Regions from separate parts of the Homo sapiens genome. Here regions 2, 3, 4, 5, 6 and 7 are each linked to region 1. Evidence: promoter capture Hi-C in 16 types of primary human blood cells and fetal thymus (Javierre and others, 2016). All regions are on one chromosome and are shown on one strand. Each heading gives the region's core, a stretch centred on a gene start or on the middle of the fragment in contact. The rest is flanking DNA. Distances are from core to core; before and after follow the strand shown.

Evidence for each region. Contacts are between HindIII fragments. The CHiCAGO score rates a contact against its expected background, and 5 or more counts as called.
Region 2: a contact is called between a fragment that was not itself captured here and the fragment with the promoter of ORC1 in region 1, in 1 of 17 cell types (fetal thymus). The highest score is 5.9, in fetal thymus.
Region 3: a contact is called between a fragment that was not itself captured here and the fragment with the promoter of ORC1 in region 1, in 1 of 17 cell types (fetal thymus). The highest score is 7.8, in fetal thymus.
Region 4: a fragment that was not itself captured here is called in contact with the fragment with the promoter of ORC1 in region 1 in 2 of 17 cell types (M1 macrophages and naive CD4 T cells); the score reaches 5.2 in M1 macrophages.
Region 5: a fragment that was not itself captured here is called in contact with the fragment with the promoter of ORC1 in region 1 in 1 of 17 cell types (endothelial precursors); the score reaches 5.1 in endothelial precursors.
Region 6: a fragment that was not itself captured here is called in contact with the fragment with the promoter of ORC1 in region 1 in 9 of 17 cell types (M0 macrophages, megakaryocytes, erythroblasts and 6 more); the score reaches 11.5 in M0 macrophages.
Region 7: the fragment with the promoter of ZFYVE9 here is called in contact with the fragment with the promoter of ORC1 in region 1 in 2 of 17 cell types (endothelial precursors and M1 macrophages); the score reaches 7.8 in endothelial precursors.

What each region holds. Positions count from the first base shown.
Region 1 is chr1:52,402,718-52,406,396 of GRCh38, reverse strand. It overlaps ORC1 (origin recognition complex subunit 1), which reads left to right and starts at 1,974. Exons shown (of 17, transcript NM_004153.4): 1 at 1,974-2,151. It overlaps PRPF38A (pre-mRNA processing factor 38A), which reads right to left and starts at 1,795. Exons shown (of 10, transcript NM_032864.4): 1 at 1,518-1,795; 2 at 558-717. The coding sequence starts at 1,647. RefSeq lists an enhancer at 1,276-2,475. The HindIII fragment of the contact is 1,229 bases long and covers 913-2,141 here.
Region 2 is chr1:52,029,252-52,032,930 of GRCh38, reverse strand. All of the region lies in intron 2 of TXNDC12 (thioredoxin domain containing 12), which reads left to right. KTI12 (KTI12 chromatin associated homolog) reads left to right here. Exons shown (of 1, transcript NM_138417.3): 1 at 1-828. The coding sequence ends at 234. Among named protein-coding and RNA genes, the nearest start is that of KTI12, 2.7 kb to the left of the region's middle. The HindIII fragment of the contact is 2,042 bases long and covers 1,035-3,076 here.
Region 3 is chr1:52,051,187-52,054,865 of GRCh38, reverse strand. All of the region lies in intron 1 of TXNDC12 (thioredoxin domain containing 12), which reads left to right. TXNDC12-AS1 (TXNDC12 antisense RNA 1) reads right to left here. Exons shown (of 3, transcript NR_126385.1): 2 at 3,017-3,082; 3 at 2,183-2,459. Among named protein-coding and RNA genes, the nearest start is that of TXNDC12-AS1, 2.1 kb to the right of the region's middle. The HindIII fragment of the contact is 1,063 bases long and covers 1,060-2,122 here.
Region 4 is chr1:52,741,814-52,745,492 of GRCh38, reverse strand. All of the region lies in intron 1 of ZYG11B (zyg-11 family member B, cell cycle regulator), which reads right to left. Among named protein-coding and RNA genes, the nearest start is that of ZYG11B, 17 kb to the right of the region's middle. The HindIII fragment of the contact is 3,010 bases long and covers 353-3,362 here.
Region 5 is chr1:52,097,259-52,100,937 of GRCh38, reverse strand. No RefSeq gene overlaps it. Among named protein-coding and RNA genes, the nearest start is that of BTF3L4, 43 kb to the right of the region's middle. The HindIII fragment of the contact is 1,024 bases long and covers 1,568-2,591 here.
Region 6 is chr1:52,675,640-52,679,318 of GRCh38, reverse strand. No RefSeq gene overlaps it. Among named protein-coding and RNA genes, the nearest start is that of COA7, 21 kb to the left of the region's middle. The HindIII fragment of the contact is 2,221 bases long and covers 546-2,766 here.
Region 7 is chr1:52,140,393-52,144,071 of GRCh38, reverse strand. It overlaps ZFYVE9 (zinc finger FYVE-type containing 9), which reads right to left and starts at 1,983. Exons shown (of 19, transcript NM_004799.4): 1 at 1,669-1,983. LOC107984956 (collagen alpha-2(I) chain-like) reads right to left here. Exons shown (of 5, transcript XM_047439476.1): 2 at 2,783-2,879; 3 at 2,591-2,637; 4 at 1,669-2,295. RefSeq lists a silencer at 1,324-2,183. The HindIII fragment of the contact is 13,456 bases long and covers 1,294-3,679 here.

The DNA of each region.
Region 1 (3,679 bases), core at 725-3,224:
TATGTATTTAGTGAATCTGTGAAATCCTTTTTCAGGGAAAAATTACCAAAACTGAGAAAGTAAAGTAGAAGATTAATACAATCAGAACAGATAAAATACAAACTTGGCAGGGTGTGGTGGCTCATGCCTGTAATCCCAGCACTCTGGGAGGCCCGGGGGGGGAGGGGATTACCTGAAGTCTGGAGTTCGAGACCAGCCTGGCCAACATGGTGAAACCCCATCTCTACTAAAAATACAAAAATTAGCCAGGCGTGATGGCACATGCCTGTAATCCCAGCTACTCGGGAGGCTGAGACAGGAGAATCACTTGAACCCAGGAAATGGGGGTTGCAGTGGGCCGAGATCGCACCACTGCACTCCAGCCTGGGCAACACAGAGAGACTCTGTTTCCAAAACAAAAAACAAACAAAAAATACAAACTCAAGGGCTCAAAAGCAAAAATCTGGAGTGGAACTCTCTAGAAATGAGATACATTGTGTACACCCCTCTTAACCAAAGCCCAATTCTAAACCGCCAAAATTAAACCTCTTATATTAGCTAGTGAACATTGCACTCACTTGAAATCTTCATTTTTGATAAACTCTACAATGATATCCTTCTCGGGTTGAATTTGAAGCATCTTCAAGGTTAAACACAGAAAGGGTGTTGGTTTTATGTTGCCACCATAGACGCCACCCACAAACCTTAACTCCATGGCTTTATCGACTACAAGTTCAGCTAAAAAACAAAAACAATACAGTAACATATTAGGGCTAAGCTCTTCCTAGTTGGAGTGGAGTTAGTTCAAGCTTTGGTTCTCCTAAATATACATCAACAGTGTAATATTAGGAGAACGAATGTGTATTAATAACAGTAACGACAACAGCTAATATACATTGAGAATGGATAATAAAATAGGTACCCTGCTAAGCTTTTCATATTATCTCACTTAACCTTTTTTAACAAGTCATGAAGAAAGTTCTAGCAATGTTCTTATTTCCAGGTAAGGAAAATGAGGGCTAAGAAAGGTAAAGTGACTTGCTCAAGGTCCACAGATTGTCACAGGACATGGATTTAAAGCCACAATTCAAATCGGAAGATTACCTGGAAGACTTCTCTGAAGCACTGATATTTATAAATACTGGAACCGGCCCAGATCTAAGAATAGTAAGATCATGAATTTGGTTTCAGGCATATTAACGTTAGGTCCTTAAAGACCTTCAACAGATTGTGTCAAAGTGTTATATCCGGATCCCTGAGCTTAACACTGTTGCAACCCAGCCTGCTATCATTAAATACGGAATAACTCACAACACCCAACTGAGACAGCCTTCAGAATATGACCTTACCAGATTCATCTGTGCCTCTAATACTCAACACAAGACGAGGCACTTAGCAGGCACTCAAAATTTTTCTGAATGATCGACATACTCCGTTCCAGTACCACCCCCAGAGGCCAGTCGCTAGTCCTACCCGCGCTCGGTCAGGAGAAATGGGCCACAAGGGGGCTGAGAGGCGCTCCGCGCGCTTCCACTTACCTGTAAGTCCAAAGCACTCCTCTTTCCAGTACTTGGACTCATAGATTCGCGTTCGAATGATCTTCTCCACCAGATATTGAGGGTTGGTGCCATGGATGCTGTGCGCATCCTTCACTGTACGGTTAGCCATTTTAGAATGCCTTCAATTCTATTTCCGTCGGATCCTTTAATGCCTCACATCCAGGTTCAGAAAAAGCACCTAGAGGAATGGAGAAAGGTGGAAGAAGTTTCACTAAACAGCTTAGGCGACCATCTTGAAGCCGGAAACACCGTAGTGTAAAGGGCTTCCGCTCCCCGCGTCGCCTATCGAATCAATGATGGCGGCTGCATGTTAGCGGATGTACGTCATGCGCCCCTCTTAGGTGTACGGAGTGGGCGGGGCGAGCTAGTTGGTGTCGCAACGAAGGGACGGTCTGGGGGCGGGGCCACGCCGATTGGCGCGAAGTTTTCTTTTCTCCTTCCACCTTCTTTTCATTTCTAGTGAGACACACGCTTTGGTCCTGGCTTTCGGCCCGTAGTTGTAGAAGGAGCCCTGCTGGTGCAGGTTAGAGGTGCCGCATCCCCCGGAGCTCTCGAAGTGGAGGCGGTAGGAAACGGAGGGCTTGCGGCTAGCCGGAGGAAGCTTTGGAGCCGGGTGAGTGTGGCGTCCAGCGGGCTGCGAGGGACTCGGGGGAGGGCGCATCGGAACCTCTGAAACTGAGGACGTTCTCTGTAGACTCAGTCATTGATTCTTTTAGCTGACATGTACCAAGCGCCTGTTCAGTGCCAGGCACTGTTCTGAACTGTTAAGAGCGTTCCTCTGTTCCACACTCCGATTCCTAAAAGGCTTCCCGCGCTGCAGGGAACTGAGTTTGCAGGGGGGAAGGCGGAAGCCAACAGCCTAGAAGCAGGAGCATTCCTGCCCTCCGCACCCTGATGCTCAGTGATGACTTTCCCTCCATCTGCATTTGTAAAGCACTCTACTTGTTTCGTTCTTTGAGCTATAGTGTAGGAACCACTACAGGGAAGGCGGAGCAGAGGTTATTACCCCATTTTACGGACGTAAATTGCGCCCAGGGAGGGACGTGTCTTAGGTCGCTTTTCGTGACTAAGCAGTCTGGGCTCCTACCCAGATCTTTTTTTCAGATGAGCTCCTAACTGCTGGGCTGTCTGTCATTCACCTTCTTTTCAGAAGAGAAGTCTGGTGGCCCCCTTCCTACTTCTCTTTTCTAACCCCGGAATTGAAGAGTCTTCTGCTGTGACAGTTGGAAAAGGCATTCTTATCCTGATCTATTTGTGAAACTGCAATGATTATATACGATTCTAGTTGTCTGTAACACATGAATAATAGTACCCTCGTCTCTGCTGTGTTAGGTGGGCTGGAAATGCCAAAGGAGTTTCCAATATGACAGAATGGTTTAAGTCCCTTTGCAACAGTTTTTAACTTTAATGGAGGGCAATATGTGGACTTTAGGAGGTTTGTGAATCTGCCGAAATTGAATGCAAAATTTTGCTTGAATTATGTTAGTTCCATAGTATTCATCAAATGATACTTAATAAATAAAACCACTGTACCTTACAAATAAATGCAAGGGATTAAGGTAGTGGGAAAGTGGATTTACCATTTTGCATTTTTTCACTTAATCTTCCATTATCCTAAAATAGTGCCTGGCACACGATGGGTACTTAATAAATATTGGTTGAATAAACGGAAGATTCTATTTTCTCCATTTTGTGGGTAAGCAAATTGAGGCCCAATCCACAATGTTCAGTCAGTGGCTGGGAAGCCTGATTTATTGTAATAAGTACACCAAAAGCAAGCTCTCAGTTACATATTAACATTATCCAGTTTCACACAGTGTGTTGTAAGGTGAAGTAGTTAAGAGCACAGTAATTGCAGTCTGGCTTTTCCGGGTTTGAGTTAAGGCTGTGCCATCCTGTATAAGATAGGATAAGTTATCACCTTGAAGTGATAATAACATCTACTTTTCTTTTTTTTATTTTGAGACAGAGTTCTGCTCTGTCACCCAGACTAGAGTGCAGTGTTGCGATCTCGGCTCACTGCAGCCTCCACCTCCCGGGTTCAAGTGATTTGCCTGCCACCATGCCCACCTGATTTTTGTATTTTTAGTAGAGACGGGGTTTCACCATGTTGGCCAGGCTGGTCCCGAACTCCTGACCTC
Region 2 (3,679 bases), core at 806-3,305, 370 kb after region 1:
ACGAGTCAAGTACTGGCCGGATTGATGGAAGCGCAGAAGAGCGCTGTCCCCGGGGACTTGCTCACGCTTCCTGGTACCACAGAGCACTTGCGGTTTACCCGGCCCTTGACCATGGCAGAACTGAGTCGCCTTCGTCGCCAGTTTATTTCGTACACTAAAATGCATCCCAACAATGAGAACTTGCCGCAACTGGCCAACATGTTTCTTCAGTATTTGAGCCAGAGCCTGCACTGACCAGAGGAGGTAGGGGGGAAGCCATGGCTTCTGATCTCCACTCCACTTTATTTCTCTGGGAAAAATAGGCTGCAGGTCTCCAGAGCATATCGATGCAGTACTGTACTAGAGCTGTTGTGACTGATTCACTCAAACTTTCCTGCATACCCCTGTGCCAGGCCTTGGGTTTACAGCATAAGTTCAGACTAAAGAGAATGGAGAACTATTGTGGTGCAACCTGGCAAATCCCTCAGAGGACAGAGCTAAGGTGGACAGGGATTACCTAGATTGGATCCTACTTGGGCTATCACAGAGCATTGACCATTGGCTTCCCTCATCTGAGGCGTGGGAGAGCAGACTGGATAGATGAGAATTGTTTTAAAACAATTGTGAACAGAAACTGAAGATGGTACAGTTCTACATCTGCACCTGCCCTTTTTTCATACCACAAAAGTATTTTTTGAGTACTGTACTGACTTTTTGCTAGTTTCTATTCTGGGACCGAGTTCACAGATAAATCCATTGGTTTGTATCCTTGAGAAACTTTGTTTTTGTGGAAGTAAGAAAGTTATCTACTAGATTATTTCCTCTAATAAAATCTTTTAAAATAGTCTACTGGAATCTCTTTCACTTAATGTTCCCTGTGTAACTTCATGTAACATTTTAGGTATACTTGTCATTGTTCTGCCTTTAAGTGAAGTAGTATTTTGATAGTTCTGAGAGAGTAGATGTTTTGAGCTACTCTACAGTAATTATATTATGACAATTTCCGTAACTGTTTTGCTTCATTCTGCATTTCAAGGCAAATATCATTGTAAGCTTGTCTTTCATTCTTCATTGATTTCATTGAACAAATGGTAGGTACCTACTTTAACAGTGGCTGTGATTTTCAAAGACCAATTAGATACAGTGTTTTTGCTCTTGAGATATGTGGTGAGAAGCCGGGTGTGGTGGCTCATACTTGTAATCCCAGCACTTTGGGAGTCCAAAATCGAGGTCAGGAGTTCGAGACCAGCCTGGCCAACGTGGCAAAACCTCGTCTCTATTAACAGTACAAAAATTAGTTGGGCGTGATGGTGTGCCTGTAATCCCAGCTACTCTGGAGGCTGAGGCACGAGAATCGCTTGAACCTGGGAGGTGGAGGTTGCAGTGAGCTGAGATCGCACCACTGCACTCCAGCCTGGGCAGCAGTGAAACTGGGTCTTGAAAAACAAACAAAAAGAGATATGTGGTGAGAAATACAAGTAAAAGATAGAATTAGGCTGGGTGCGGTGGCTCATGCCTGTAACCCCAGCACTTCAGGAGCCCAAGGCGGGTGGATCACAAGGTCAGGTGTTCAAGACCAGCCTGACCAACATGGTGAAACCCCATCTCTACTAAAAATACAAAAATTAGCCGGGCGTGGTGGCACGTGCCTGTAATCCCAGCTACTCAGGAGGCTGAGGCAGGAGAATCGCTTGAACCCGGGAGGCGGAGGTTGCAGTGAGCCGAGATCGCGCCACTGCACTCCAGCCTAGGTGACAGAAGGAGACTCCATCTCAAAAAAAAAAAAAAAAAGATAGGATGAAATGGGCTGGTGGTCAGAGGATGATGACAAAAGACAAAATGCTTTGGAAACCTGGTGAAGAGGACTAACTAGCTGTTGGGGGAGGTGGTTTTGGAAAGGTTTTAAGAGGAGTTAACATTTGAACCATCACTGTAGAATAAAGTCAGTAAAGGGCCAAATGGTAAATGTTTTAGGCTTTGTGGACCATCAAATGCTGTTGCTACTTATAGATGGTAAGTAAACAAATAAGCATGAATGTATTTTAATAAAACTACACTGAAATGTGAATTACAATTAATTTTAACATATCACAAAGGAGTCTTTAGATTTGCTTTGCAAACATTGAAAAATGTAAAAATATACAACAAAATATTTGCATATCATGGGCCCTACGGAAGCAGACGGTGGGCTGGATTTGGCCTGCAGACCCTAGTTTGCCAACCCCTGCTCTAGAAGGATAAACAGATGTTTGCCAGGGAGAAAAGAGAAAGCAAGACATTCGAAAACATGCATGCTCTGAAACTATGGAGCTGTTAAAAGAGAGGGTAGATGGGCTGCCTTGGTTGATGGTATATTCCTTGCTCATCAGGTAATCTATACTACCTTTTGTTTCTGATAAACAGGATTCATGTGTGAAATGGAAGTCTGGATGAGGCAAACTCAAAAGGCTTTTTCCAACCTTCATTAAGTTGGTTATTGATTGAATTGGGTCTAACCATGGATTCTGGATTACCATTCTAAATTGAAGTAGACTGTAACCGTCAGAAAGAACATTGGTTTTGGAGTCGGACTTCTGAGTTAGCTAGTAAGTGGCAGAACCTAGGTTTTTGTTTTGGGTTTTTATTTTTTTTTATTTATTTATTTTTGAGACAAGGTCTGGCTGTCTCCCAGGCTGGAGTGAAGTGCTGTGAGTAGCTGGGACTACAGGCATGCACCCCACGACCGGCTAAGTTTTGTATTTTTTTGTAGAGACAGGTTTTCACCATGTTGCCCTGGCTGGTCTTGGACTTGTGAGCTCAAGTGATCCTCCAGCCTCGGCCTCCCAAAGTGCTGAGATTACAGGTGTGAGCCACTGTGCCCGGCCTAGAACCTAGATTTTATGGGGCCAAATATTTACTCTATTGAGCATCTCAATTTTCTCATTTCTATTGTGAGACCATTAATAGTATCTACCCTAGGGTTATTTTGAGGATTTAAATGAGATAATGCATATACAGCACAATGTCATATAATAAACGTTCAGCACATTTTGGCTATTATGGTTACCTATATCCTACTACCCACCTAAACTTGCCCTGCTCATTTGGTTTACAAGCTTTTACAAGTATTGCAGGCAGAAGTCCATCCAGATGTGAGGTAGGCCTAAGGTGAGGTGACTGAATGATTCATTTGACACTTATTAAATGAGTTAATTTATGTATATTTACAGTAGTGCCTGGCACATGGCAAATGGTATATAAGTGTTTGCTATCAATAATATATGTGTCAGATGTAAAGGATATAGAGACAGCTAAGAGTTCCTTGTCTTAGGAATCTCCAAGTCCAGTGGAGGGAGATGGGTAAATAATAGGTACAGATCAATATGTTAAGTGCATGGTAGCTATTATACAGTGTATGTTGTTATGGTGACATGGGGTTGTGTGATGGAGAAAGCTAATGGCTACCTACTTACATGGGGTCTTCCTACTGTCATTTGAGCCTTGAGAGCTTAAGAGCTTCCTCTAGCCAGTCTGGTTCGGGTGGATTGCATTGCTCATTGTGAACAGTTTCCTCCCTGATTATGAAAATTATATTGTAGAAAAATCATGAAATACAGATGTAGTGTAAGGAAAACATCCACAGTCCCATCATCCACAGAAAACTGCTATTATTATGTTTTGGTACATTTTCTTTTAGGCTCTTTTCTCTGTACATATTTTA
Region 3 (3,679 bases), core at 342-2,841, 350 kb after region 1:
CCGCTCCTGGAGTTTGAAGATTTCTTGGGGTAGAGAGTAGCGGGTCTGGGGAATGGAGAAGTTGTACTTGAGGCCTCTCTAAATTATTGGATTGGGGGGAAGGAATGGCCCGTAAATTAAGGAAAGCATGTTAAGAGCCCAGCATAGTGCCTAGCACTTGGGAGGTCCTGAGGAACGGTCACCTTCCCACCTGGGAGAAATAGAGCCGTTGGGGACCTGCATATGCAGAGGACCCTGTTCTGGGTCTGAAGATTTCTCTCGTTACTTCTTCCGCGAAGAGCTAGGTTACTGCCACTTGCTTGCCTTTGGGAAACAGCACCTGCATCCCAGGTAGCTGTATCTAGTGCATAAGAAGAGCCAAGCGAATGGTAGAAGGTCTGCTGTTTAAGGGTCCCCAACAATTGTCCTTGCTGTGGTTCAGCGAAGTTTTTTTGTAAGTGAGCGATCAGTGGTTATGAATGGAGGTTAGGAGGTGTGGCCCCCTACTCCATCCATTACCTACATCTCCATTCTAAGTTTTAACACCTCTCTCCTCATCAGCCCTTACTTAGTTGAAAGTTGGACTGACAGTCTGTGAACTCAGAGTTTATGCTTTTCTAAGTAGATGAATTGTAGCATGGATCCCAACCCCTCTTCCTTTTTTTTTTTTCACTGACCTTACTGTATGGAATGATTCTGCTGCAATCCTTCTGTTTTTGTTTTCTCTTATCCTCTCTATTTTCACATCTATTGGTGAGTAATAAGATTGGGTGGGCATTCATTTTGCCTGAATGCAATCATTCCTTCATTCCGTAAATAATTTTTGATCACCTCCTATATTTCAGGCACTGTCCTAGGCACTAGGGATATAGCTGTAAACAGGACAGACAAGGTTCCTACTCTGGTGGAGCTTATATTCATGTCAGAGAGACAGAGTAGACTCATGAACAAATTAATAAGACAGTTTCAACTAGGAACAAGTGCTGGGAAAACAATAAGACTGTGATGGAATAGGAAGTAGAAAGGCTGGGGAGGTTGGTGGAGCTGGCATCACTTGAATTATGAAGGTCAGGAGAAGCTTTTTGGAGAAGGTGATATGTGGGTTTCCATCTCAGTGATGAAACTGCATGACAAATCCTGTTAGGCCAGAATGTTTTAAATACTGACAATCCCATTTTAAAACAGACTACCGTTTTTTTTTGTTGTTGTTTTGTTTTGTTTTTTAGACAGAGTCTCACACTGTTGCTCGGGCTGGAGTCCAGTGGCATGATCTTGGCTCACTGCAACCTCCGCCTCCTGGGTTCAAGCGATTCTCCTGCCTTAGCCTCCCGAGTAGCTGGGATTACAGGTGCCTGCCACCACGTCTGGCTAATTTTTTGTATTTTTAGTAGAGACGGGGTTTCACTATGTTGGCAAGGCTGGTCTCAAACTCCTGACCTCATGATCTGCCCGCCTCGGCCTCCCAAAGTGCTGGGATTACAGGCATGAGCCACTGCGCCCAGCCAGCTACTGTATATTTAAAGTTGTAAGTACTGAGAGTAACAGAAGAGTAGAGTGTTGGGTACGTGGGTTTAGATCTGAGTTTTTTCTTTGCTGTTTTTTCTGTTTGTTTGTTTGCTTTTGTTTTTGAGACGGAGTCTCACTCTGCCAGGCTGGAGTGGAGTGGTGCAATCTCGGCTTACTGCAACTTCTGCCTCCCGGGTTCAAATGATTCTCCTGCCTCAGCCTCCCAAGTAGCTGGGACTACAGGCATGTGCCACTATGCCCAGCTAATTTTTTTTTTTTTTGTATTTTTTTGTATTTTTAGTAGAGATGGAGTTTCACCATGTTGGCCAGGCTGATCTCAAACTCCTGACCTCAGGTAATCCTCCCTCCTTGGCCTCCCAAAGTATTGGGATTATAGGCGGGAGCCACTGCGCCAGGCCTAGATCTGAGTTTTAATTTGTTCTGCCACTCACTAGCTGAGTAGCCTTGGGCAAGTTTCTTAACTCTCAAAGCCTCCGTTCCTCATCTGCAAAATGGGCATCATAACTACCTCAGACACTCAACAAATAATTTGCTCTGTTCAAGTTACTGTGTTAGGTGTAGGTAATACCTTGGAATCAGGTATTTTGTATTTTTATTCCTTGTTAGATATTAAGCTTTGTGTGGTTGTTCCAGTTACCATTGTTGTGTAATAAATCACTCCAAAATTTAGTGGGCATGAAGAAATCATTTTATTATGCTCACAATTGTGTGAGTAAGGAATTCAAACAAGGCACACTGGGAAAGGCTTGTCCCTGTTCTATGATGACTGGGGCCTTGGCTAAGCTGGTTACCTCTCCATGTGATCTTTCCGCATGGGCTCCTATGGGTTTCCTCACAGTAGCTTTATGGGAGGCTGGATTCCAAGAGTGCGTGCCATAAGAGAACAAGGTGGAAATGCATGGCATTTTTGTCACCTAGCCTTACAAGGCACATAGCATCACTTCCACAGTACCCTGTAGGGGCAGATTCAAGGGAATGGAATATTAGGACCCCCACCCTCACCCCCAATGGGAGGTATGTTGAGGTCACATTGTAAGAAGGGCATATCTGCCACAGTGAACCAGGACTATTTCTGTCTTGTTCATGCTCAGGAATATTTGTTGAAAGAGGAAATGAATGATAAACATGATAATTGTGATTCCTGTCCTTTTTCAGCTTGCAGTCTGGTAAGATACCAAGACAAGTAAGCAGACAGTTACATGGCAGCATGATATGTGCTTTAAGCAGAGAAATACCAGGTAGCTGCAGGAGCACATAGAAGGGCAGCTTAGGGCAGTGGGGCTGGGTTGGGAGGATTCAATCAAAAAACAAAAGGCACTTAATATTGTGTCGGACACTTAGAAAATATTTAATAAACATTAACCAGTATTATTTCCCCCATGGAAATAATAATAATAATCCCTAAAAGGAATTAATACTATTTCAAACTTTTGTTTTATGTATCTCTTGGGTATGGATTCTTGGGAAGTAGATTATACCCCACTTACCCTACCTTCCAAAAAAGTGCTACCTGAGGCAATGGTTGCTGAAAGTCTTAATGAGATGGATTTCTTCCCAGATGTTTCCGGACGATGGCCTGGTGGTTTACAGAGAGGAGAGACTGAATGATCTCTACTGTTTTCATTAAGAAGAAGCAGCACAGTGATGTGGACTTAGCACTAAATAGAAATTAGAAGGCCCAGGCTGGGCACGGTGGCTCATGCCTGTTATCCCAGCACTTTGGGAGGCTGAGGCAGGTCAATCACCTGAGGTCAGGAGTTCAAGACCAGCCTGGCCAACATGGCGAAACCCCATCTCTACTAAAAAAAATACAAAAATTAGCCAGGCGTGGTGGCACACGCCTGTAATCCTAGCTACTCGGGAGGCTGAGGCAGGAGAATTGCTTGAACCTGGGAGGCGGAGGTTGCAGTGAGCCAAGATAGTGCCACTGCACTCCAGCCTGGGCAACAGAGTGATACTCTGTCTCAAAAAAAATAAATAAATAAATTAGGAGGCCTGGATTGTAATCCTGATCAGGCCATTTAGTTCTGGTCCTACGTGACAACCAATTAATCAATGAGAAAGTTGTACTAGAAGTACTTCCTAAGATCTCTTCCAGCTCTAACGTTCTATAGAGTTCCAAAATAATTACATTGTTCTCCATGGACTAAAAATTTGGAGTACATCACCCATG
Region 4 (3,679 bases), core at 608-3,107, 340 kb before region 1:
CTGAGTAAGAAGTAAGTATGAATAAATGAACTACCTATAAGCAGATCCTCTGCTCTTGAACCACAGCTTCTTATAAAAGCAAGGCATACCAGAGAGCATGGGGCAATGAAGACAAGGCAAAAAAGGAATCTCAATCCATTAGCTCTTCCTAAACCTTCTCATAGCTTTCTTTTAATCTCTACCCTTCCTTCCCACAACCCCCACTCCGGTTTTTATTGGTCTTCCTAAATGCTCCTGCCTTGAAGTATTTAGTCATTTACACAACACTCAACTAGAGGTATTCTCAGTAATTTCCCCAAGACTCAGTCAGTTATCTGTTTTGTTGGTTAGTTTGTTTTGTGTATTAAAAGCTTCATTCTGTTACTGTATTGCCAGAGCCATGGCAAAGAAGCATTTCAACCTTCTGAGCACTTGTGGACTTCAGAATCTCTGAGCAATGAGGTTTATGTTTTGGTTAATTATAAGAAAAAATATCCTTTGTGAATTATGCTGGTAGCAATGCCTTACAGTAAACAAAGCATATTCACATCCTGATTTCATTTGATACTCACAATAACCTTACAAAGTAGAAGAAAAAGTATTAAAATTTTCATTTTACAGTTAAGAAAGCTGAGGCACAAAAATGACTTCTCTAGAAATATATTTTTTTTTTGATATGGAGTCTCGCTCTGCCAGGCTGGAGTGCAGTAACGCGATCTCAGCTCACTGCAACCTCCTCCGCCTCCCGGGTTCAAGAGATTCTCCTGCCTCAGCCTCCTGAGTAGCTGGGACTACAGGCGCGTGCCACCATGCCCGGCTAACTTTTTGTATTTTTAGTAGAGACGGGGTTTCACCATGTTAGTCAGGATGGTCTCGATCTCCTGACCTCATGATCCGCCCGCCTTGGCCTCCCAAAGTGCTGGGATTACAGGCGTGAGCTAGCGTACCCAGCCCTTCTCTAGAAATATCGTAGTTAAGAACAACAGTAGAACTGAAGTTGAATTCTAGTGTTATCACAATGGTCAAATTACCTAGCTCTTCTGACACTCAGTTCTATCCTATGTAGAGTGGGGATAATATTAGTACAGTCATGTGTTGCTTAACAACAGGAATATATTCTGAGAAATGTGTCATTAGGCAATTTTGTCATTGTGTGATCATAGAGGTGGTAGATAGGATGCAAAAACCTGTACAGCATGTTACTGTACTGAATACTGTAGGCAACTGTAACAAAATGTTAAGTATTTGTGTATCTGAAAAATCTAAACATAGAAAAAGGCTGGATGCAGTGGCTCACACCTGTAATCCCAGCACTTTGAGAGGCTGAGGTGGGCAGATCACTTAAGGTTAGGAGTTTGAGACCAGCCTGGGCAACATGGTAAAACCCCATCTCTACTAAAAATAAAAAAATTAGCTGGGTGTGGTGGCTTGTGCCTGTAGTCCTAGCTACTGGGGAGGCTGAGGCAGGAGAATCGCTTGAACCCAGGAGGCGGAGGTTGCAGTGAGCTGAGATCAATTGTGCCACTGCACTCCAGTCTGGGTGACAGAGCGAGACTCTGTCTCAAAAAAAAAAGAAAGAAAAGAAAAGGTACAGTAGGGATAGGCATAGAAGATAAAAAATGGTACACCTGTAGAGGGGACTTAACATAAATGGAGCTTGCAGGACTGGAAGGTACTTGGAATATATCAGTTGAATCAGTGATAGTGAATGTGAAGGCCTAGGACATTACTGCACACTATTGTAGACTATAAATACTTAAGCTACACTAAATTTATTTAAATGTTTTTTCTTTTTGGGGGGTGGGGACAGAATCTATCACCCAGGCTGGAGTACAGTAGTGTGATCATAGCTCACTGCAGTCTCAATTTCCTGGAATCAAGCGATCCTCTCACCTTAGCCTTTGGAATAATACGTGGGACTACAGGTGTGCACCAAAGCACCCAGCTAATTTTTTTTTATTTTTGGTAAAGACAAGGTCTTGCTATGTTGCCCAGGCTGGTCTCGAACTCCTGAGCAAATTTGTCTTTCTTCAGTAATAAATTAACATTATCTTACTGTAACTTTCTTAGCGATTTTATGAACTTTTACTTTTTTTTTTTTTTTTTTTTTTAGTATTTATTGATCATTCTTGGGTGTTTCTCGGAGAGGGGGATTTGGCAGGGTCATAGGACAATAGTGGAGGGAAGGTCAGCAGATAAACAAGTGAACAAGGGTCTCTGGTTTTCCTAGGCAGAAGACCCTGCGGCCTTCCGCAGTGTTTGTGTCCCTGGGTACTTGAGATTAGGGAGTGGTGATGACTCCCTAATCTCAGAACCAAATGGAGTCTCCTACGTCTACTTCCCTCTACACAGACACAGCAACAATCTGATTTCTCTCTCTTTTCCCCACATTTCCCCCTTTTCTATTCGACAAAACCGCCATCGTCATCATGGCCCGTTCACAATGAGCTGTTGGGTATACCTCCCAGATGGGGTGGCGGCCGGGCAGAGGGGCTCCTCACTTCCCAGACGGGGCGGCCGGGCAGAGGCGCCCCCCACCTCCCGGACGGGGCGGCTGGCCGGGCGGGGGCTGCCCCCCACCTCCCTCCCGGACGGGGCGGCTGGCCGGGCGGGGGCTGCCCCCCAGAACTTTTACTTTTTTATTAACTTTTTGACTCTTTTTTTTTTTTTTTGAGACGGAGGCTCGCTCTGTCGCCCAGGCTGGAGTGCAGTGGCACGATCTCGGCTCACTGCAAGCTCCGCCTCCCGGCTTCAGGCCATTCTCCTGCCTCAGCCTCCCGAGAAGCTGGGACTACAGGCGCCTGCAACCACGCCCGGCTAATTTTTTGTATTTTTAGTAGAGACGAGGCTTCACCATGTTAGCCAGGACGATCTCGATCTCCTGACCTCGTGATCCGCCCGCCTCCGCCTCCGAAAGTGCTGGGATTACAGGCGTGAGCCACCGCGCCTGGCCTACTTTTTGACTCTTGAAGTAACAAAACATAAACACATTGTACAGCTGTAAAAAAATACAAAAAAAATTCTCTCTTTTACATCTCTTTTTCTATCTTTTATTTTTTTTAGAGACAGGGTCTTGCTCTGTCACCCAGGCTGGAGTACAATAGCATAATCACAACTCACTGCAGCCTCGACTTCCCAGGCTCAAGAGATCCTCCCACCTCAGCCATCCGAATAGCTGGGACTACAGGCACGTGTCATCATGTCTGGCTAATTTTTTGTTTTTGTGTAGAGACGGGGTCTTACTATGTTGCTCAGGTTTGAACTCCTGGGCTCAAGTGATCCTCCTGCCTCAGCCTCCAAAGTGCTGGGGTAATAGGCGTGAGTCACCATGCCTGGTCTCTCAACTCATAAGAATCAGGCTCAAGATGTCCTACCCAAAAGCTTCCTAAGACTGACAATTCCTGTAACAGAACACAAGGGCTTTCACAGTGCTCCTTTATTGTATCTTTGGGTGACTTTTTTCTAAAGATTGGGCCAGAAATCAGGTGACTACAAAAATTACAAACTCGACAATTTAATGATAGAAATAGATTTTTTATGGATATCTTTCTAAAAGACTATGTAATACTATGATGAAGAGTGTGGGCTTGGGAGTCAGACTGCCTGGATTAAAATGCCACCTCTACCATTTACAAACCTATATAACCTTAAGCAAAGTACTTAATCTCCCTGAACCTCAGTTTCATGATTGTAAAATGAA
Region 5 (3,679 bases), core at 830-3,329, 310 kb after region 1:
TAACCTTACACTAAAGAGTTAGGAAAATATCCAGATCTTTCAAGGGTTGCTGGATACTAGATCTAAGTTAACACTGATATCTGGGGACCTAAAGCATCAGCATGGTCCACCAATTGGAATAAGAGTACATGTGGGTGAGGAAATAAATAGAGTCCTGACCCAGGTCTGTTGTACAATGGTTCCACTAGGTACATGGACCTACCCAGTTGTCTCTCCTGTTCATGAGTGTATACTTGAAATAGGCGTACCTAGAAATTGCAGAACCCTCACTGTAGATGAAGAACTACTGTAGTAGTAAGAAAGGCCAAGTGGAAGCTCCTGAAACTGCTCCCTTATAATGGCCAATATAATAAATCAAAAACCTATGACATTCTAGTGAAATGACAGAGTTTAGTGCCTCCCTCAAAACTTTAAAGAATGCAAGAATGGGCCAGGCGCGGTGGCTCACGCCTGTAATCCTAGCACTTTGGGAGGCCGAGGCAGGCGGATTGCCTGAGCTCAGGAAGTTTGAGACCAGCCTGGGCAACATGATAAAACCCCGTCTCCACTAAAAAATACAAAAAATTAGCCAGGTGTGGCAGCGTGTGCCTGAGTCCCAGCTATTAGGGAGGCTGAGGCAGGAGAATGGCTTGAACCCGGGAGGCGGAAGCTGCAGTGAACCGCGGTCACACCATTACACTCTAGCCTGGGTAACAGAGAGAGACTCTGTCTCCAAAAAAAAAAAAAAAAAAAGAATGCCAGAAGGATGGTCCCTGTGACATTTCCATTTAACAGTTTTAATTTTTTTTTCTTAATTTTTCTTAACCTCTGCCTCCTGAGTTTAAGTGATTCTCATGCCTCAGCCTCCAGAGTAGCTGGAATTACAGGCGCATGCCACCACGCCTGGCTAATTTTTGTATTTTTAGTAGAGACGGGGTTTCACCATGTTGGCCAGGCTGGTCTCGAACTCCTGCCATCAAGTGATCTGCCCACCTCGGCCTCCCAAAGTGCTGGGATTACAGGTGTGAGCCATCATGCCCGGCTTCAAATGCCCTTGCTCTAAGATCATTTGGTGGCAAGGAACAGTCTCTCAAGCTGGCTTAAACGGAATGATGGTGGCAGAGGGAGGTGTTTTTAAGAACACAAAAATCTCACTGACAAGTTAGCAACCCAGGGACAGAAAAAGGACAGCCAGGCATCATAGGACAGAAATTGTGAAATCATTTTCTGAGACTGTTCTCTTTTTAGGGTTGTCTATTATTTCGGCTTCATTCTTATAGCTTCCACTGCTTGTACCTGGCCCAGTGTGAGTGTTCTAGCTCCATCCTACAGGATCGTTCAGTCCAAGGGTCCATTAGCATCTGATTCAGTCTTAGTACAGAATCCTTAGAAATAAATGGATTGGCTCAGCTGTTAGTCTATGGATTGGTTCTTGGGTCACTGTTTTGCCCTCGGTCTGAGCATCTATTACTGGTGTGGAGTCACGCTCTGTAAACATGGCTGTCTAGGCTTCTTAAGAAGGATATGTGGATGTAAAACAATATTAGAATGGGTGTGAGTTGGGCTAAATACACTGTGATAACAAGCTTGCTCTAGCAAACATAAAGATGGGATGAAGATCCTTTTCTTCTGTGACACTTAAAAAGAGTCTGTAGCACTGACCTGGTCCTTGGTATGACCTTTTATTTTTTGAGTGTATGCTATTTTCTAACAACTGTAATACTGTGGAGGTAGGGATTAGTGCCAACTCATCTCTGACTCCTCAGAGTACCAACTCAAAGTTTCTCAGCACTGTGGTCTTGGGAATGACTTATTGCTGAGGTAAACTGTATCCATAATGTTTTTGATCGGTTAGACTTACCTACAGTTGGCTGATCTCTTCCACATGGGGTTCCTAGAGGCATTTCACAGGTTTTTTTTTGTTGTTATAGTAAAATATTCATAAAGTTGACCCAGTATAGTGGCTCATGCCTGTAATGCCAACACTTTGGGTGGCCAAGGCAGGCAGATTTCTTGAGTCCAGGAGTTCAAGACCAACCTGGGCAACATGGCGAAACCCTGTCTCTACCAAAAAAAAAGTACAAAAATTAGCTGGGCATGGTGGTACACACCTGTAGTCCTAGCTACTTGGAAGGCTGTAGCAGGAGGATTGCTTGAGTTCAGGAAGCGGAGGTTGCAGCAAGCCAAGAACAAACCACTGCACTCCAGCCTGGGTGATAGAACAAGACCCTGTCTAGAAAACACACACACACACACACACACACACACACACACATACACACACACACACGATATACATAGTTTGTCATTTTAACCAATTTTGAGTACACAATTCAGTAGCATTAAATACATTCATATTGTTGTGCAAACATCATGACTATCCATCTCCACAACTTTTTCATCCATTCCAAACTCAAACTCTGTACTCACTACACAATAACTCTCCATTCTGCACTCCCTTTCTACCCCATAGTAATTCTTTCTGTCTCTATGAATTTGATCATGCTAAGGCAGGAGTCGCCAACCCCCAGGCCATGACCCATATTGATCAGTGACCTGTTAGGAACCAGACTGCACAGCAGGAGGTGAATAGAGAGTGAGTGAACAAAGCTTCGTCTTTATTTACAGCTGCTCCCCATTGTTTGCATTACTGCCTGAGCTCCGCCTCCTGTCAGATCAGTAGCAGCATTAGATTCTCATAGAAGCGTGAACCCTGTTGCGAACTGCACATGCGAGGAATCTAGGTTGTGGGCTCCTTATGCAAATCTAATGCCTGATAATGGGTCACTGTCTCATATGACCCCCAGATGGGGCAGTCTAGTTGCAGGAAAACAAGCTCAGGGCTCCCACTGATTATACATTATGGTGAGTTGTGTAATTATTTCATTACATACTACAATGTAATAATAATAAAGTACACAATAAATGTAATGCACTTGAACCTTCCCAAAACCATCCCCCAGTATGCCCCCAACTGGTTTGTGGAAAAAATTGTCTTCCATGAAACCAGTTCCTGGTGCCAAAAACGTTGGGGACCACTATTCTAAGGTACCTCATATAAGTGGAATCATATAACATTTGTTCTTTTATGTCTCGCTTATTTCACTTAGCATAATGTTTTAAAGGTTCATCCCTGTTGTAGCATGTGTCAAAATTTCCTTCCTTTTAAAGGCTGAAAAATATTCTGTTGCATGTACATACCATATTTTGTTTATCCATCCATCCATCCATCAATGGGCACTTGAGTTACTGTTGTGAATAATGCTGCTATGAACATTGGTGTACAAATATGTTTGAGTCCCTGCTTTCAATTCCTTTGGATATATACCTAGAGGTAGAATTGTTGGATCATATGGTAATTCTACATTTAATTTTTTGAGGACCCTCCACATTGTCTTCCACAGTGGTTGTACCATTTTACATTCCCACCAGCAATGTACAAGGATCCCAATTTCTCCACATCCTGACACTTATTTTTTATAATAACCACCCTAATAGGTTCACATCTATTAGGTGTGCTAGCTCATTGTGGTTTTCATTTGCATTTCCCTAATGATTAGTGATGCTGAGTATCTTTTCATGTGCCTGCTATCTGTATATCTTTGGAGAAATGTCTATTTAAGTCTTTTGCCCACTTTTTTTTTGTATTTTGTTTTTACTCCTTTTTTGAGACAGGGTTTTGCTCTGTTACCTAGGCTGG
Region 6 (3,679 bases), core at 407-2,906, 270 kb before region 1:
GGGGCTGCCCCTACTTTTTCCCTTCTCCACTGCCTGAGCACAGAGTCACTGAGAAGACTTGCACCTGCTGGGGGCCCAGAGTGGAAACTATTCCCAGCTGGTGCCCCTCCCCAGGCTTGAGGAATGGTGATTGTATTACAGTTTATAAATCAGGCCTCCCCACTGTCTAAAGGGGAAAGGCCAAAATTCTTTGCCCAGTGTGTCTCCCCACTCCCATGAGATGATCCCTGCCTCCATATTTAGCCCCATCTTATTCCTAACTCAGGCATCTTTGCATCAGGGAACTGCTTGTGGTCTCTGCACCACCTGCCCCACCCCCAAAATATCCCTATCTCTCTCTCTCTCTCACACACACACACACACACACAGAGAGAAATTAAGTGGTGATGGATGCGTTCATTAATTTGACTATAGTAATCAGTACACAATGTATATCAAATCATCACACTGTATACCTTGAATATATACACTTTTTGTTTATCCATTAAATATTTTAAAAGAAAAAGTAACAACAAAATACCCAGGCTGTTTCTTACAGCCAAGCTTTTGCTGATGTCTGGGTCCACCAAGACCTACGGAATGAAAATCTGGATTTTAAATAAGAAAACCACGGGAAATTCTTATTCATACTAAAATGGGCAGCCCACTCAAGTGGTGTAAAGCCGCAGCTCCTTAGCTTGTCACTACAACCCCTCTGCAGTCTGGTCTCCACACCTTCAGCTCTTTACAATTCCTAATAGTCCTTTAAAACTTAGCCCACATGTCACCTCCTCCAGGAAGTCATCCTGGACCCTCAAGTTCCGTGGTCTTCTGATAGTCCTTGTGCTTCTCTCAGTTCTTTCTTTCCTTTTTTAAAATTTAGTGGGTTTTTTTGTTTTTGTTTTTTTTTTGAGACAGAGTCTCACTCTGTTGCCCAGGCTAGAGTGCAATGGCATGATCTCGGCTCACTGCAACCTCTGCCTCTCAAGTTCAAGCGATTCTCCTGCCTCAGCCCCCCAAGTAGGTGGGATTACAGGCACCTGGCATCCTGCCTAATTTTTGTATTTTTAGTAGAGATGGGCTTTTGCCATGTTGGCCTGTTGGCCAGGCTGGTCTCGAACTCCTGGCCTCAAGTGATCCATCTGCCTTGGCCCCCCAAAGTGCTGGGATTACAGGCGTGAGCCACTTCGTCCAGGCTTAATTTGATTTTTTAAAAACAGAGACAAGTTCTCACTATGTTGCCCAGGTTGGTCTCAAACTTCTGAACTCAAGCGATCCACCTGCCTCAGCCTCCCAAAATGATGGCACTACTATGCCCAGCCTGTCTCTGTCCTTTTCACATGGTTTGGGACAGGCTGTTAAGTGCCTGTCCCAATAGATTATGTCCTAATAGATTATGTCTCATTTCTATTCCCTGTGCCTAGCTCAGGATCTGGTACAGATGAGATACATAATAAATCTTTATTGAAGGAAAGGGAAGGGAAGGGAAACTCTCAGAGACAAATGCTATCTTCCAGTAGATCAACTGAGCATTGAAAAGGTAGCGTTTTGGAAAAGAATCTGGATTTAAATAATTTCTCTGCAAATGTGTTATGTTTCCTCTATGAGCCTCATTTTCCTCATCTCTAGAGTAAGGATAATGTTTACTTTTCAGGGTTAGTGTAAGGGTTAAAGGGTTTAATGAGATAAAGTAAGTGCAGTGCCTGGCTCGATGCCTGGCACATTCTAAATTGTGTAATAGCTCACTGGAGGGCTATCTTTCGGAAGCAGAACTAGGCTTGTTCTGTACAGCTCCAGAGAGCAGAACTAGGCCCAATGGATGGAAGCTGCTAGGAGACAGAACTCAGTTCATCGACATCTGAGTGGAAGAAAGCATTTTCTACTTGGCAGAATGAGAAGCTCTGGGAGGAGGTGAACTTCCTATTACAGGGATATGCAAGAAGAGAGGAGATGCTCGCCTGTCAGGGCTGATGCAGAGGGGACTAACTCTATATGAGATTTGGGTGGAGTGAGTATGCAAAACCTGAAAGATGGGAGCCAGATAAGGCATTTCCATTCAGTGCCCTCCATAATTCATTATTCATATGGTCAACACTGAGGGCTTCCTCTAGGCTGGGTGGCCCTAGGTTGGGCGCTGGGGATGCAGGGCTGGATTTGACAGAGTCTTTATCATTTAGGAAATTACAGTCTAAATTTTGATCATTTATTGAGCAACTACTTTGTACCAGATGCTCTAATCATCTCAGGAAACTTTCATTCTCACTGTTTTTCAAATAAACTGAGGCTCAGCCAAAGTGGCTTACAGAAAGACTCACAGACCAATGAGTATTGCAGCCGGGATTAGAACTTAGTCCTGCTTGTCTCCTAAACCCTCTTCATATGACTCAAGGCTGCCTCACATCCTGATGTTGGAAACACTTTGCAGTCTCAGGGAGACCCTCAAACAGCACCCGAGGACCTTTTGGGTACCAAGTAGATGCTGATGAACAGGAGCTAAAAGGCTAAGGTCAGCTGCAGGAGGACATGGACTCCCTGTAGCACGCTCTGTGCCCAAGTTCCCTCCAGCTGGGGCCATGCGGAGAGTCCAGGAGAACTTGCTGAGGTCAGACTTCACTGCTCACATGACCAGCCAAGCTGCCTGGGCCAGGGCTCCCTGAGGGAACTTGAAACCCGGCTGGGTTCCATCAGCTCCAAGAATAGCAGCTGACCCTACTCTCCCCAAGATGACGGTGTCCGATCAGGTTCCAGGAGGCCCCAGTGGACTCCAGACATCAGTGGCATCAAGCTTTGACCTTGAAGCTGCCCTGGGGTGGTGTAATAACAGCAACATTCATTAACTGCCCACTGTGTGCAGGGCGCCTCCTGAAGTGGGGAACATCCTGTAAGGGAGGTCTAAGTATGGAACCCATTTTACAGGTGAGGAAATTGGGGCTCAGAGATACTGAGAACTTACCCAAAGTCACAGTGAATATGCGGCAGAGCTGGGTTGGAGCCTGGGCTCCCTCTGCCAGTGACCCTGCTTCTGTGAGGAGAGAAGAGCACTCTCAAGACCTCAGAAGACTCCTGGGCAGAGGAGACAAATCCCATCAGCTTCTAAAGGAATGAAGGCAGGGTGCAGTGGCTCACATCTGCAATCCCAGCACTTTGGGAGCTGGGAGTCTGAGGCAAGAGGATCGCTTGAGCCCAGGAGTTCAAGACCAGCCTGAGCAACATAGTGAGACTTCATCTTTACAAAAAAACAAAAACCAAACAAACAAACAAAAAACAAATAAAGAAACTGAAATTAGCCAGGCATGGTGGTGTGCACTTGTAGTCCTGGCTACTTGGGAGGCTGAGGATCAGTAGAATCATTAGAATCCAGGAGTTCAAGGCTGCAGTGAGCCGAGGTTGTGCCAGTGCACTCCAGCCTAGGTGTCAAAGTGAGACCCTGTCTCTAATAAATAAATGAATAAAAAAAAAGTCGCAGGCCAGGCGCAGTGGCTCAGGCCTGTAATCCCAGTACTTTGGGAGGCTGAGGTGGGTGGATCACCTGAGGTCAGGAGTTCGAGACCAGCCTGGCCAACATGGCAAAACCTCATCTCTACTAAAAATACAAAAATTAGCCAGGCACGGTGGTGGGTGCCTGTGATCGCAGCTACTCGGGAGGCTGAGGCAGGAGAATCGCTTGAACTTGGGAGGCGGAGGTTGCAGTGAGGGGAGA
Region 7 (3,679 bases), core at 734-3,233, 260 kb after region 1:
CTTACGTTGCCCAAGCAGGACTGGAACTCCTAGGATCAAGGGGTCCTCCCCATTCAGCCTCCCTAGTAGGCCTAGCCATCACACTTTGCCTGAATTAGACTTTTAAAAATCGAGATTAACCTACCCAAATAACTGGTAATGAAGCCAATTTTTAAAAGAAATACTTAAAATCTGACAAAAACAATGCAAGGCTACAGCATCTAACACAGTAGGTCTTCAAAAACGTGTACCATGCCAAACTTTCTCCCTAGATGGAGACCCCATGCTGCATAGAAGGTTAAGTCAGGGATCTTTTAGGTAGTTACCCATATTCTTCTGTTTTAATTGATGAATTCAACATGGTTCCAATGTAATTTAGTAAAATATTTTTACAGGTCTTATACAAATGACAATGTAAAATGGAACAGTCAGATAATTTTAAACCTAATATACAGAAATAATAATTTTAAAAATCACTGTCAGTACGAGCCCATTATAAACCTGTACTGTTTACAATCTGTGAGATTATGGGTGATTTCTCCTATTATTAAATATTTATTAAGAGCCAACATGGTACCTTTCTATAATTCCCAAGTTTTCTACAATAAGCATATTTTTTCATGATTATAAAAGTTTTGCAAGTACCTATAAGTCTTATAACTTTCACATACATAACAGGAAAACAAGAATAACCTGTAATCACATTTCTCACAAAACATAAATATCTGACTTACGGTATCAAACTGTAATCAGTAGCATTTTCAACATTAATATCAGAACAAATCATTTTATTTCTAAAATTTAGCATGTATCCCATTTCCTTCAGGTATTTATTAGGGTAGCTGGCACTTAAAGAGGACTTAAAATCCTTTTGCCAACTATTCTCTGGATCTCTTTAAGTGGAACATTTTTGTACCGAACACTGAAGCATAAAAATATTTCTTCTGGCGGGGTGTGGGGGGCAGACCTTTGTAAAAGACGTTTTTATAACTGTGAGTGTTTATCTACAAAACTTAGCATCGCAAAGATGCGATGGGGCTTTCTCCAAGGCAGACCACGCTTAGAGGCAAGATATAATATAAAGAGGCAGGAATGAGCAACCGGCAGGTGATGAAATTTCACCTCAAATAAGACGCAAAAGGTTGTTCTCGAGCAAGCCAGATCCATGAATGACACTCCAGGAGTAGCAGGGGCTCTCTTGGTCCCGCACTCTCTGCACCCCCAATTCTCACCCTGGCCTTCCTCTCCTCCCCCTTTCCCCGCCACAACCGGGATTCTGAGGGACTCGGTATGGGACGCGTGGAAGCCAAAGCTTGTTTGCAAACAGGCGTCATCTGCCTCCCTCCGGGATGTACGTGCAGGGCCCGGGCTAAGAGGCTGCGCTCGGCCCGGGCCCATGCAAACCCGAAAGGCGGCCGTGCTCCTGCCGGCCCCCAGCTCCACACACCCGGCCGCGCCGGAACCGAGGCCGGAGCGAGGGCTTCCCAACGGCGCGGGGCCTAATCGCCCCCCACGGCCTTCAGCCTCCCGGGGGACGCGGGGAGAAAGGGCTGAGGCCCCAGGACCGCAGGGTGGGGGAGGCGACCGCAGTGGCAGGACGCCCCGTCCGCCCGGCCCGCGGTCTGCCGCCAGGGCCCCCACAGGCGGCGGGAGGCCGGCGAGCCCCGGACCACGCCGCGCCACACTCACCTCGAGCAGCGGCCGCCTCCGCTTCAGCATGGCCACGGGGGTCGTCCCTGAGCCGAAAGCCTCCTCCGGAGGGCACCGGCGCGGCCCCAGGCGCCGCCGCGAAACCTCCCACTCCTGTAGGAGCTGCGGTAGCCGCAGCTGCGGCTGCTACTGCTGCTAAGGCCCGGCACCCGCCCAGCCGCATCGGCGCCCGGGCCGCGGCAGCCACGCGGATCCCGGAGGAGCGCCGCCGAGCCGGGCCGGGGGCGCAAGGCTGCGGCGGGACGACCGAGGTGCGGCAGGCGGGGATCCTCAGCGAAGCCTCCAGCGTCGGGTGGCCGCTCCTGCCGCCGGCGCCGCTGGGCCACAGCGCCCCCTGGACCCCACGTCCGGCTACGGCGTCGGGACTGCGGCGGCCGCGCTGGGCACGAGCCGCAGGGAACGCTAAGGAGCGCGGCCTGGGGGCGGCGAGGGCCCCGTGCTCCCTGCGTAGCCCGCGGCCCGCGGCCGGCCCGGGACTCCGCTTCCCGGGAACCGGAAGCCCCTCAGTTCCCACCAACCCCTGGCGTTCCCCGCCCCCGCCAGACCCGAGCACCTTTTCGTTCTCTCCCGAAGATACGTGAACGTTCTTGTCACTCGGACCCGCACCTGAGAGCAGGAATATAAGGGAATCTCCGTTTGACTCTCACGGTTTCGGGGGTGGCAGGGAGACCCCCTTCTAATTCCTTTAATGCGTCTGGATGAAAGAAGAGTGACCCAGAACAAACCTTTTTTTCAAACATACACACTCGTCTCCCAAAACAGACGAAGGAATTGTCTTTGACCTTAACTTGTTTTTTTATCTACTGTGTAGATCATTAAGAAATTTTCTACAGATATCAACCAAACCCTTAACACCTAAACCACCACCCCCACAAAACAAAAATGAAAAAAAAATACATACATATATATATATGCCAAGCCAGAGAAGAGAATAGCCAACGGGTTGTCCTGAAATTCATAAACAACTTAAAGGTAAGCAAAGAATCACCCATCTTTTACTAACATCCTCTCCCTCCCAACCTCTTCTCTCCCACCTTTCCACCCCTCATCCCAGGCAAATCCTAGTAAGGCTCTGAAGGAAGGAAATTATTACACAGTGGGGGCTATGGAATCATTCTGTTTACAGATGCCCCATATTTGATCCCAGTCAGCCTCTAGGGTGCAAACATCAGAACCAAAAACAAACACGACTGTCAGAGGGGAAGTAGGGAAAGAAAATTCTCCAAATCCTCTGATCCCTAAATTTTCCAAATACACTTTTTTAACAGAGTGGTATACTAGAATGTGTAGTGATTTTGGTGTCAGACACATACCAACACTACCAGTTCCAGTTCTGTCATGTATATATAGCTTTATGACCCTGGGGAAGTTATGTAACATTTTTGAACTTCAGTTTTCTCCTGCCTGCCTTGCTGGTTGTTGAAGATTGGAGATAAAGAGACTGGCCCATAGAAGATACTTAATAAATGTTAGTTACAATTTTTATTGGTTCCAGTTCTTTTTCTTAGGCTCAATTTTGTACTCCTCTGTTTTTGTTTCTCATTCTCTCTCTCTCTCTCTCTCTCTCTGTGTGTGTGTATGTGTGTGTGTATGTGTGTGTGTAACTGTATTTCTGTCAAAAGATAGATGCTCCATTCTTCATCCTCCCTAGTCTGGGTGAAATTTCCCTAAATTTCACTAATGGGTTTATGTAACACCCCTCCATGGAAGAATAGAGCCTCATACACTGGATCCTATGACATTCTGTTGCACAGCAGATAGCAGCATGCAACCAGTATTTTTTATGTATAAAAAATGTTATAAGGCAATCTCACCTTACCTTAGGTTATGGCCTAATGATGATAAATAATAGAAACTACAAAAGGTCTCCAGGAATCATTCATTTAATAATTGAGCAGCCACCATGGAGAAGATGTCACCTAGTAGCTCTCTTAATGAAAGCTGTTCCTGCATAATCCTAAGTGTGCCTTTGCCACATACTCCTGAGTCA